Linked DNA regions of Homo sapiens: region 1 is linked to region 2. The links are contacts of gene promoters, found by promoter capture Hi-C in human tissues and cell types (Jung and others, 2019). All regions are on one chromosome and are shown on one strand. Each heading gives the region's core, a stretch centred on a gene start or on the middle of the fragment in contact. The rest is flanking DNA. Distances are from core to core; before and after follow the strand shown.

Region 1 (5,508 bases), core at 131-2,630, 860 kb after region 2:
CTGCTGTTCCTGGGGGTGTGCTAAGCTCTTAAGCTCTTGGGGAGGCTCATCCACCATGTGGCCATGCTCTGTTCCCATTTACTTCCCATGATAGGAGTTTGTTTCTGGCTTCCAGCCCTCACCTTCGCCTCTGTCTTTGGGTTCATGCTCTGGCTTTTGCTACAGATGTCTGTGGTCATTTCCACGGCCTTTAGTTTCAAGGTCTAGCATTTTGTTCCTTTTTTGGCCCAACCACAAGCTTTCTCTGGTCTCTGGCCCTCTTAGCACTTCTGCTTCCCTAGCTCCCAACTCCATCCTGGAGGGTTTCAGGAGCTCTTGCTTGCTTTTCTACCTAGGCGACTACTGAGAACCATCTGAGATGGACAAGCCTATTTGTAAAAATAATGGTGACACAGTTAGGCATAAATATCTAACAAGAAACTACCTGCCCACTGGCTCTTGCAAAATCCCTAATTTACTTTGACAAAGTTGCGTGAAAGTTGTGATCTTGATAGAAGAAAATAAGAAACAAGTATTGCTTCTAACAGTTCAAATACTGCTCTGGGAAAGCAGGAAGAATTGGATTCTCTTTTCTTAGACAAGGGAACAGAATGTCAAAGATAATATAGTGTTGCCTTGGGAAAAAATGTTGGCTTTCAGGGTTTTTCCCTTCTGGGAGTCTGAGTGGCCTTTGAGGATTTGATACTAGGGGCTGAGCCAGTGTTGATTCCTGTACCAGCGAGCTTTGTGTATAACACATGCAGCTTCTAAAATGAAGAGCTGCCAATTACTAACCACCCCACACTGAATCAGTGCCATCGGGGCCTGCTCGGTGTGTGGGCTGTGTATCTAAACTGCAGTTTCTAGTTGTTTTTTTTTTGTCTTGTTTTTCATTTTTTAAATGGAAATAAAAAGCTGACAGATACAGTTTCATTACAATTTTCAAATGCTCTTTCGTACCAGTTAAAGGAGAGTTTTGAATGGTGATGGGCTACATGTTTACATACACACAATTTTGAAAGTTAAAATGTCAGTTAAAAGGAGTTTTGCATGGATACAAAGTTATCCAGTATGGGGGTGGCATTGAGGGTTGTTTTCTCCTTGGGCTGTCTTGATGGAGGAAAGCTGGTTGGAAAGGCTGAGTTGCTGTTTTGGCCTCTGACAGTGATTTACTTTGTAACCTCAAGTAAGTCATCCTCTGGTATCTGAGTTTTAGATAAGTCAAGAACCTACCCTTGAAGTGGTATCGAGGGATAAATCAGACTGTCTGAATGACTGGACTGGAGCTTCTCAGAAGCGCAGTGCAAATCTGAGTTTCTAGTGTGCGGGCGAACCTGATGTTGAAACATCGGAGCTGGAAGAGGGCTCTTACCCATCCAGCCCAGCTTTCGCATTTGGCAGATGAGGAACCCAGGGAGGGGAAAATGACTTACAAAGATCACGTAGCCAATGAGTGTGGAGCTGGGGCCATAATCCAGTCCTTATGTGATTACTGTGAAGTTATCCTTTTCCCCCAACATCTACTTATGAATAAAGAGTTTATTAAGTGGTTAACTGCAAGGCAAGATTGCTCACAGTACTCTCAATGACACTCCAGGCTCAATGGCCTAGAGGACATAGAACAGAAGGAGGATTTAAGGAAACTTCTCCAATAAATCAGGCAAAATTTGCTTTGAGTGTGAATTCTAATCAATGCCATCATTTGTAGGAATGGGCCATGTCAGCAGCCCAGGGGTTGCTAACTTCAAGTAGGAGGTAGCCTTACGCAGATACTTGACTTGGGAGGACAGGAGGAAGAAAGCATTGAATAAACAAAGCAGGACTGAGGGTAGGAGTAGAGGCCTTCTAGGGATGCTGAACTTGTGCACAGAGAACTTCCTAACAGAGCACTACCTGCCTCTTCCTCCTACCCACCCCTGGGTTGCTTTTATAGGGGAGGAAAGCAAATCTTGTCCCTCTAGCCATCTTAGGTTCTCCCACTGAGGCCCTGTATATTAGACTAACAAAAAAGCACCTTCACCAGAGAAACACAAACAGAAGTTTATTAGCATGTGTCACACATACACATGGAGGTACCTAGAGATGAGTAACTCAAAGGGATTGTTAGAACTTGGGCTTATATAACATCTTAACAAAAAAACCCAATACTTTTGTAGAGAATTAACAAGAGAAAGGAAAAGCACTCTGGACTTCATGGGGTAGCAAGTTGTGGGAAGATAAATGGGAAACTCATGGACGGTAAGGGCTGGTTGGTCAAGTTTGTTCCTCTGGTCTAGTGTGTGGGATATAGGATCTACGGTTGTCTCAGGGGACCAAGAACTGTCCTGCCCTTCCTGGAAGAAAAAAGGAGAGCAGAGTTTTTCTTCTGTCCACTTCTTAATTATCATCAGCTCAGAATAATCCTTACGTCTGTTAAAGCAAACTAAATATGGCCTGAGAAGGACTCTGTACTTCTATATTTGAGTCCTTGTGGATGAACTGCAACCTAGCTTAACTGGTAGACGAGACTGAAAACCTAACTAGGAGTATGCACCTGTAACAGTCACTGAGTCTTGGCCAATCCCAGCAGCCATACTTCAACCACTCATACACTGCTGAGTGTTCAACTTGTGTTCAAATAAGGCAAACGCCAAGCTGTAGCTAGTCAGGCTGTTTCTCACTTCCTATTTCTATATGTCACTTTACTTTTTTTTTGTCTATAAATTTGTTCTGACCACAAGGCACTCCTGGAGTCTCTCTGAGTTGGCTGCCCAATTTGTGAATTGTTCATTGCTCAATTAAACTCCCTTAAATTTAATTCTGCTGAAGTGGTTTTTTTTTTTTTTTTAACACGCCAAAGTGGCATATTTTGGGGTGGCATAATCTGCCACACCCTTCCTTCCTCCTGAAGAGTTTCTTTGAGGAATTCAACCACTACATTTGAAGCATGCAACTATGGCAAACCTAATTAGAAAAAGTTGTGCTGATTCAGGAAGCCCCAGTCCCCGACTGAGTGACAGTAGATAGATGTGGGTAAAACAGTATCTTATTCTTGGCAGCTGAAAGTAAGTGAGAGGAAAGGGGTGGTGGAGGAGAGGAAGCCAGCAGGAGAATAGAAGAGAAAGTGGAGTGCACGCTCCTGACTGAGCAGGTCCCGTAGTCGACTTGATTGACAGGATGAGACTGAGGAGAGGCAGTGTGATCTCTGGGCGGGAGGTCAGAGCCTCTAGGCCAGAATCATGGTGGAGTTCGAAGAAGAAGAATGAAGTTTGAATGAAGTCCAACTTCATTCCCTAGAGAATTCCCAGGGACCTGGCTGTTCAGAAAGGAGCCTTGGGCAACCGATGGTGCCAGGGCTCCAGATGATTCCACCCCTGAGATAGAGTCCTTTGAGTCCTACAAAGTCTGGACTTCATAACGAATAATGACGGTGTCTGTTAAGTGCTTCCTAGTTATGAAATGTGATAAGCATTTTAAAAATGCAGTGTCTCATTTGATAATCACAACAATCTGTGAGTTAAATATCATTAGCCCATTTTACAGATGAGGGAGTTGAGGTTTAGAGATGTAAAAATAAGTGGCCCAAGCCCACCCAACATATAAGCAAACAGAGATTCCAATGAAATTATCATTCCAAATTCATATTTTTAATCATTATACTGCACTGCCTTCCCTTGGGTGGGTTATGACTTTCTGGGGAGGAGCCTTTCTGGAGGTCAGTAGCCACATGTTATAGCAGGGTCTAAATTTAGGATTCACACGGCGTCTGAGCTGCGGACAGAGGTAAGGCGAGTGAGTGGGGACTCTACATACTTGGAATCTGCCCCTGAGACCTGGTCTAGGCTCTTCTTTGAGTGATACCAATTGCCTGTTTTGTTTTTTTTTCTCTGAGTAAACCTGACCATTTCAAGCTCATTGTCAGGATTAGAAACCCTGACAGATCGAGGAAGAGAAAGCGAAATGGAATAGAAAGGAGAATGGGGGTGAGAAAGCAGTAGGTACTGAGTGTGTCCAACTGGGTCCTGGTCTTAAGCGTTCATCTGTCTCACAACAGCCCTGGTGTTGTGGAATCGAAGGACAGAATAAGATCGTCCAGCAGAGACCAGGACCAGAGATCTGGTTAGACCATACATATTTGTTTAGGCAGAAATGAAGACCAGATAATGTAGGGAAGGTGTGTGTGCATGACAGGTGTGGGTGGGAAGGCGAACCCAGAGAAAGGGGATCCCTGTGGGTGGTGGGGACCAAGCACACGAGGGTTTGGAGCAGCCAGGAGGGGTCTATGGATCCATAGGACTTCAACAAAAATAACAGACAAGCTAGTGGGTTCTAGGTGTCATGTTTTGGCATCTAGCTCAACTATGCAGGTCCTCGGAGCCACCACAAAATCCAGACAGACCCCTGATCCCAGAACACATTCTGTCTACTCCCTGGCGCTTGGCTGTCAGACTCTGCCCAGTTTGGGTAGAAAAACCGGCCACAAGAGGGCAGTAGGAAGCCACCGACGCTGGCGGATCTGCAGAGGGCTGGGTGCTCTGGGATGGACCAATAGGTTCAGATAGAAAATGACCTGGGAAAAAATGACCACAGCACCCCTGAGTGCCCCTGGACACTGCTGCCTCAGCCCCACCCTGGACATTCTGATTCTGTAGCCTGGGTAGGGGCTGGCAGTCTGAATTTTTAACACACAGCCCATGTGATATGGGAACTGCTCCCCCCAAGTATGCAGAATCTTCCATTGCACTTCCTTAAACCAAGATGACAAATAGGATTATTAGGAGAATAATATCTGTTAAAATGTTTTATTGGGAACATAGATAATATGACAGTGCATATATAAAATATATGCACATTTCAAAGAAGAATAAACACTGTGAATAGCTGTGCAAACACCTCTTAGGTTAAAAAACAGAATGTCACCAGCATCCCTGTGCACCCCTCCCATCTCATATCCCTTCCTCTCCCCATAGGTAACCTTGAGACTCTCCCATGTGGATTCACGTGTGTGAAGATAAGTGCCTTGTATGAACAACTTACGTACTCTTATCTCTTATATTGATGGACATTTAGGTTTTTCGGTTTTTTGTTTGTTTCTTTTTTCCTGTTAGGGACAATGTTGCTATGGACAGTCTTGCACCTGGAGAATTTTTCAAGAGATTTTCTAGGGTATATACGTAGGAGTAGAATTGCTGGGGTTTTGTGTATGCATGGTAAGCATTTGATCACATCAATATTAGGGAGATTTTGTTTGTTTATTTGTTTGTTTTTGAGACAAGGTCTCACTTTGTTGCCCAGGCTGGAGTGCAGTGGCATGATCATAGCTCACTGCAGCCTCCACCTCCCAGGCTCAATCAATCCTGTCACCTCAGCTTCCCGCATAGCTGGGACTACAGACATGTGCCACCACACCCGGCTAATTTTTGCTTTTTTTTTTTTTTTTTTTGTAGAGATGGGGTTTCCCTATGTTGCCTAGGCTGGTCTTGAACTCCTGGACTCAAGTGATCCTCCAGTCTGAGCCTCCCAAAATGCTGGAATTATAGGCATGAGCCA
Region 2 (5,565 bases), core at 2,119-4,618:
ATGGTGATAATGACTTAAAAGTGAAACTGAAATGGTGAGAGAAGTACGATTAAAAAGGGAACTTTTTCTTTAATATTTATCTGGAAATACCAAATGTAGAAAATGCAGATACATTTTGAAAACTGCTGTAAAAGGCTTATGAATTACTCCCCTTTCCTAAACTAATAATATTTTTAAAATTTAACAATAGTAACATGTTAATAACTAATATTTCATATTAGGAAATATTACAATATTTGAAGAAAGTAGTTTTCATATTCAAACAATCTGAGAATGTAATCTAAATTTAACAGATTTCTAGAGGCAGAAACTTATGTGGGTGAATGTGATTTCAACAAGAATCAGCAGGAATAAAAGTTCTCTGCACAGTAAAATCTCCCTGATTTGGACTGACATTTAGTGAAAAGAATTGGTTGCCTGTTCTTAGAGAAAGAGTGTTCAGTAGAAAGTAGAATAGTCTATGGAAATAGTATACAGTACTATTATTTTTTCATGGTAACCAGATTAACAAAGCCTGGCCTTGTACTGGCCCTGCTTTCATAGGAATAAACAGTATGTAATTAGCTTATTGAACACCTGTCTGCAAGACAAGCATGTCTGTGAATCAGGATTTGAAAGCAATTGGTTATAAATTTTAAAACTGCTTCTGTTTACTATTACTTGCTTAGAAATTTCTTTAGTACAACTATAGACTTTGTTTTGTTTTGTTGGTAGAGATGGGGGTCTGGTTCTGTTGCCCAGGCTGGTCTCAAAGTCCTGGCCTCAAGATATCCTCCCACCTCAACCTCCCAAAGTGCAGAGATTACCGGCATGAGCCACAAAACCTGACTTAGACTTTGTATTCAGAGTCAAAAAAAGTTTATTGGAAAAAAAAAAGTTTATTGAGGTTTATTAGGAATTATACAGTATAACATGCACTGTCTTTCAAGCAGTTATCTATGCTTGGCTCAACAGTAATTTTCTTTTTTTTTGAGTCGGAGTTTTGCTCTTTTGTTTTGGAGATGGAGTTTCACTCTTGTTGCCCAGGCTGGAGTGCAATGGCGCAATCTCGGCTCCCTGCAACCTCCACCTCCCGGGTTCAAGCAATTCTCCTGCCTCAGCCTCCCAAGTAGCTGGGATTACAGGTGCGCACCACCACGCCTGGCTAATTTTTTGTATTTTTAGTAGAGACGGGGGTTTCACCATGGCCAGGCTGGTCTTGAACTTCTGACCTTAGGTGATCCGCCCGCCTCGGCCTCCCAGAGTGCTGGGATTACAGATGTGAGTCACAGCGCCCGGCCTAGGAGTTTTGCTCTTGTTGCTCAGGCTGTAGTGCAATGGCAAGATCTCAGCTCACCACAACCTCCACCTCTCAGGTTCAAGCGATTCTCCTGCCTCAGCCTCCCGAGTAGCTGGGATTACAGGCATGCGCCACCACGCCCAGCTAATTTTGTATTTTTAGTAGAGACGGGGTTCCTCCATGTTGGTCAGGCTGGTCTCGAACTCCTGACCTCAGGTGATCCGCCAGCTTCAGCCTCCCAAAGTGCTGGGATTACAGGCATGAGCCACTGCGCGCGGCCTCAACAGTAATTTTCATAGCTTCTTAACAGAAGAAAGTCAACTTAGTGAGGCTTTACAGAATTTATATTTTATCTTTCAGATACCATATAATCTTTTTTTTTGAGATGGAGTCTTGCTCTGTCGCCCAGGCTGGAGTGCAGTGGCACGATCTCAGCTCACTGCAACCTCCGCCTCCTGGGTTCAAGCAGTTCTCCTGCCTCAGCCTCCGGAGTAGCTGGGACTACAGGCACACGCCACCACGCCAGGCTAATTTTTTGTATTTTAGTAGGGACAGGGTTTTACTGTGTTGCCCAGGCTGGTCTCAAACTCCTGAGCTCAGGCAATCCGCCCGCCTCGGCCTCCCAAAGTGCTGGCATTACAGGCGTGAGCCACTGCGCCTGGCCCCTATATAGTCTTTATAATTATTGTTTAATTCTTTTGAGAAGAACCTATAGATCTTTATAATTATTGTTTCTTTTGAGAAGAACCTTGTTAAGAAAAAAATCACCAAGACTAAGGGAGAACACATATACTCTACAGAGCTTCTATTTTCTTCTTAGAGATCTTCCTGAGAGAGATTAATTCTCTCCATAACTTAATCAACGTAAAAAATATGCATAAAATCATAGCATGACCTGGAAAGAATCCATGCTTTATTCACCAACTAGGCCTGCTTTCCCTGTACTCTCCATTCCACACCTATACTCACCAAATGAAGTTGCAAAAGACGAAAAAGATAAAAATGCAAATACCTAAATGTCTTTTTTTATGTACATTTCCAACTTTTGTGTATTCCAAGAATTTACGATGTAATGTCTATGTTTCTAGCAAAAAAGAACTTTTTCTCTATTTGTAGTTGGTGTCTAGAGCAATTCTAATGTAAAGAAGTTTTGCATTTATTTGGTACTGTTGAGTGGCTGAGCAGCAAGGCTGCTATTTCCACTGAGTGGAGATACACAAAGATGACTTAGGAGTCCCAGTCCTCAGGATCGGAGTATTGGTGGATCACACGTGTTACAAAGCAGAAAGCATTAGGAAAAGCAAATCAGTTACTTTGAGCTTCAGATGCAAATAATTTCCAAATTGTCACTGGCCAAAATGCTTTAAACATTCAGGGTTTTGTCACAATTTCAATATAAAGGGGGGAGGGGGGAGCGGGACCCCACAGCTCTATTCCTTTGTCTTTCAGACTCCAAGAACTCAGACCGTGGTGGTGCAAACTGGTGACTGGTTCAAAAGAAGTTGGAGGGGGCGTGTAGGACAGGAGGCTTTACCACCAGTCCCAGGGTGCGTCAAGGTCTATGGTGTAAAAACCACTACTCAGAATGGCGGGGTTCATGGACTTTTCACCATGGCCAAACCTTCGATTACCTCTGATGAGCCCCAAAGATCAGAGTAGCTGACTAGGCCAGGTCCCCCAGCAGAAGGGCGCGACGGCTGCAACATCAGCGGTTAAATTGTACAGCCTTTCATAGGCCGGTCTAATGCATCCGTACTAAGATTGTTAAGGCTGAGGGTCCCTAGCCTGGGGAAAAACGAAAGGAGGCAGAGGGTAGGGAGACGGGAAAGAAGACAAGGAGGGTGTAGAAAACGGGGAGAGGAGGGGGCGGGACAGCATGGGGAAGGCCTCAGGTTTACTGGAGAGATCGTGGCGTTCCCATAGAAACGTATCCCTCCGCCCATGACCCGCGTGTTAGTCTCTTCAGTTCCTTCCGCGTCGTTTCTTGGCTGTTTCCGCCCAGCTCCTTTGTGCCGCGCAGAACAACGAGATGACGCATGCGCAAAGCGCAGCGGCCGCATATATAAACGCGAACCCGGGCTCTTCCTCGTAGTGCCGCCGGGACTCTTGGCGGGTGAAGGTGTGTGTCAGCTTTTGCGTCACTCGAGCCCTGGGCGCTGCTTGCTAAAGAGCCGAGCACGCGGGTCTGTCATCATGTCGCGTTACGGGCGGTACGGAGGAGGTAAGAAGCTGGAGTCCGGTGAGGGACGTTGGTGTGGGTGTAGTGAGCACTGCGAGGCCGTAGGGTTGTCGCGGAGGTTGGGAGACGGTTATTCCGCGTGCGTAATGGCGGCTTAGGAGCACGCCAGACGAAGCCGGAGGCAGCGGAGGCGGGGTGCTGAAGGGAGACGGGATGGCGGGTGTACATCTCTGCCGAGTTCCGTACTCTTGGGCATTTTTGTGGCCCAATCCAGCCTAAAGCAGGGTTGAGATGACGGTTTTCGCGTTGCCTTTCTCGGAGCTGCCCGCCGGCCCCCCTCCCCCCCCGCCCTCGGCGGCGGCTGCCATTTTGCGCACATTGAGGACCGTGGTGGCGCATTTCCTCAGCGCTTTCCCGCCACTTCAGCGGACAGATCTGGCCGCAGCTGTAAGATCGTGGTTGTGTTTGAGATAGAACGAAATTGGCAGCTGTGAGCTGCATGTTCTCGTCAAACAATCGGTTAAATTGCGGAATGGGAATGGGGACGTAATCTGCGACTGGCGGCTGGGTTTTTTTTAGTTATTTCCAGCGCGGTTTATGGCTCTGGGGCGGGGAGCTGGAGTCTTGGGCGAGCCTGTGCCTGGGACGTTTGCCGCGGAGGACGAGAGCCGGCGCAGCCCTGCTCTCCTGGCCCGGCCCCTACCGAGGCCCTCCCGCCGCCGACGCCGCTGCCGCTGCGGGCCCGCGCGCTCCCGGTGCGCCCGGGGCTGCCGGGACTCATGGGTGGGGCCGGGCCAGGTTCCGCCCCACGCCTCGGTGTATCCTACCACGCGTTTCTGCTTGTGTTCGGGAGGGTCACCCCGCATTATTTAGAACGTTAAGAATTTTGTCAAAAGTCTAGTTTCTCAGGGATTTGCGGACTTTCACCAGTTTTACGACTAAGTTTTGTCTTGGATAGAGGGCATTAAATGTGCTTTACCCAATCTTGAGGATGGCCCGTTTTAAGGCAAATAAGTAATTGAAACTTGGGCCAGATTTTGCGTAACGTGCATTCTTCTATTTGCGTTTTTAAACAGAAACCAAGGTGTATGTTGGTAACCTGGGAACTGGCGCTGGCAAAGGAGAGTTAGAAAGGGCTTTCAGTTATTATGGTCCTTTAAGAACTGTATGGATTGCGAGAAATCCTCCAGGATTTGCCTTTGTGGAATTCGAAGATCCTAGAGATGCAGAAGATGCAGTACGAGGACTGGATGGAAAGTAAGTAAGATGTTATGAATCTTCTGTTCATTAAAATATACTGTGGCTAGATAATGAACTTAGTGCTAAATTTGGATTCTGAAGTCTGGAAGAGACCTTAAATAGCTGGTCATAGTGTTAAATGCTAAAGGCACACGAAGGTTAAAGAAGATAGCGGAGATGGAGTTAGGGCTTGGTAAAGACCGCCAAAGTTTGTTGGGGGGGAAGGAGTGGTTGGAAAGAGTGAGTGGTTGGAAAGAGTTCTTTTTAAATCTATAAGTCCTGAATATATTTTTAACTTTAGAATTTTGTTAATTTGCTTTTATTAGGGTGATTTGTGGCTCCCGAGTGAGGGTTGAACTATCGACAGGCATGCCTCGGAGATCACGTTTTGATAGACCACCTGCCCGACGTCCCTTTGATCCAAATGATAGATGCTATGAGTGTGGCGAAAAGGGACATTATGCTTATGATTGTCATCGTTACAGCCGGCGAAGAAGAAGCAGGTATTTATTTTAATAAAGGAATGGTTGGTATTCTAGTTAATCAAGTAATTCTTTTATTAGCAAGGCAGAAACTAGTGTTTTTCTATAAACTTGAATGTTAATTGTACAGGTGTATTTTACAATTTTTGTTTAATTAAAAAAATGTTACTATATTAATAATCAACCTGGTCAAAACCTTTCAGGTTTCTTCGTTTGAGTCAGTCGCCTTGATTCAGAATGTCACGAGCCTTATGATATCATGCTGAGGCGCCTTGCAAATCCGACAATTAAGATCCTCCTAGACCTTGAGGTGATCAGCATAAGAGGCCAGATCCCCTCGAGTCATCTACACCTAGCTTCACCTTATTCTTTAAAGGGCAGAAAAT

What was found. The method cuts DNA at HindIII sites, captures the fragments that hold promoters and counts their contacts. A contact is called where the count stands out against the background at its distance.
Region 1: a fragment that was not itself captured here is called in contact with the fragment with the promoter of SRSF7 in region 2 in 1 of the 25 tissues and cell types used here (hippocampus).

The regions. Positions count from the first base shown.
Region 1 is chr2:37,890,054-37,895,561 of GRCh38, reverse strand. No RefSeq gene overlaps it. Among named protein-coding and RNA genes, the nearest start is that of PIRAT1, 17 kb to the right of the region's middle. The HindIII fragment of the contact is 6,104 bases long and covers 1-4,432 here.
Region 2 is chr2:38,749,164-38,754,728 of GRCh38, reverse strand. SRSF7 (serine and arginine rich splicing factor 7) reads left to right here and starts at 3,368. Exons shown (of 8, transcript NM_001031684.3): 1 at 3,368-3,500; 2 at 4,535-4,715; 3 at 5,024-5,200. The coding sequence starts at 3,473. RefSeq lists an enhancer at 2,864-2,923 and silencers at 3,784-3,883, 4,094-4,283. The HindIII fragment of the contact is 20,463 bases long and covers 1-5,565 here.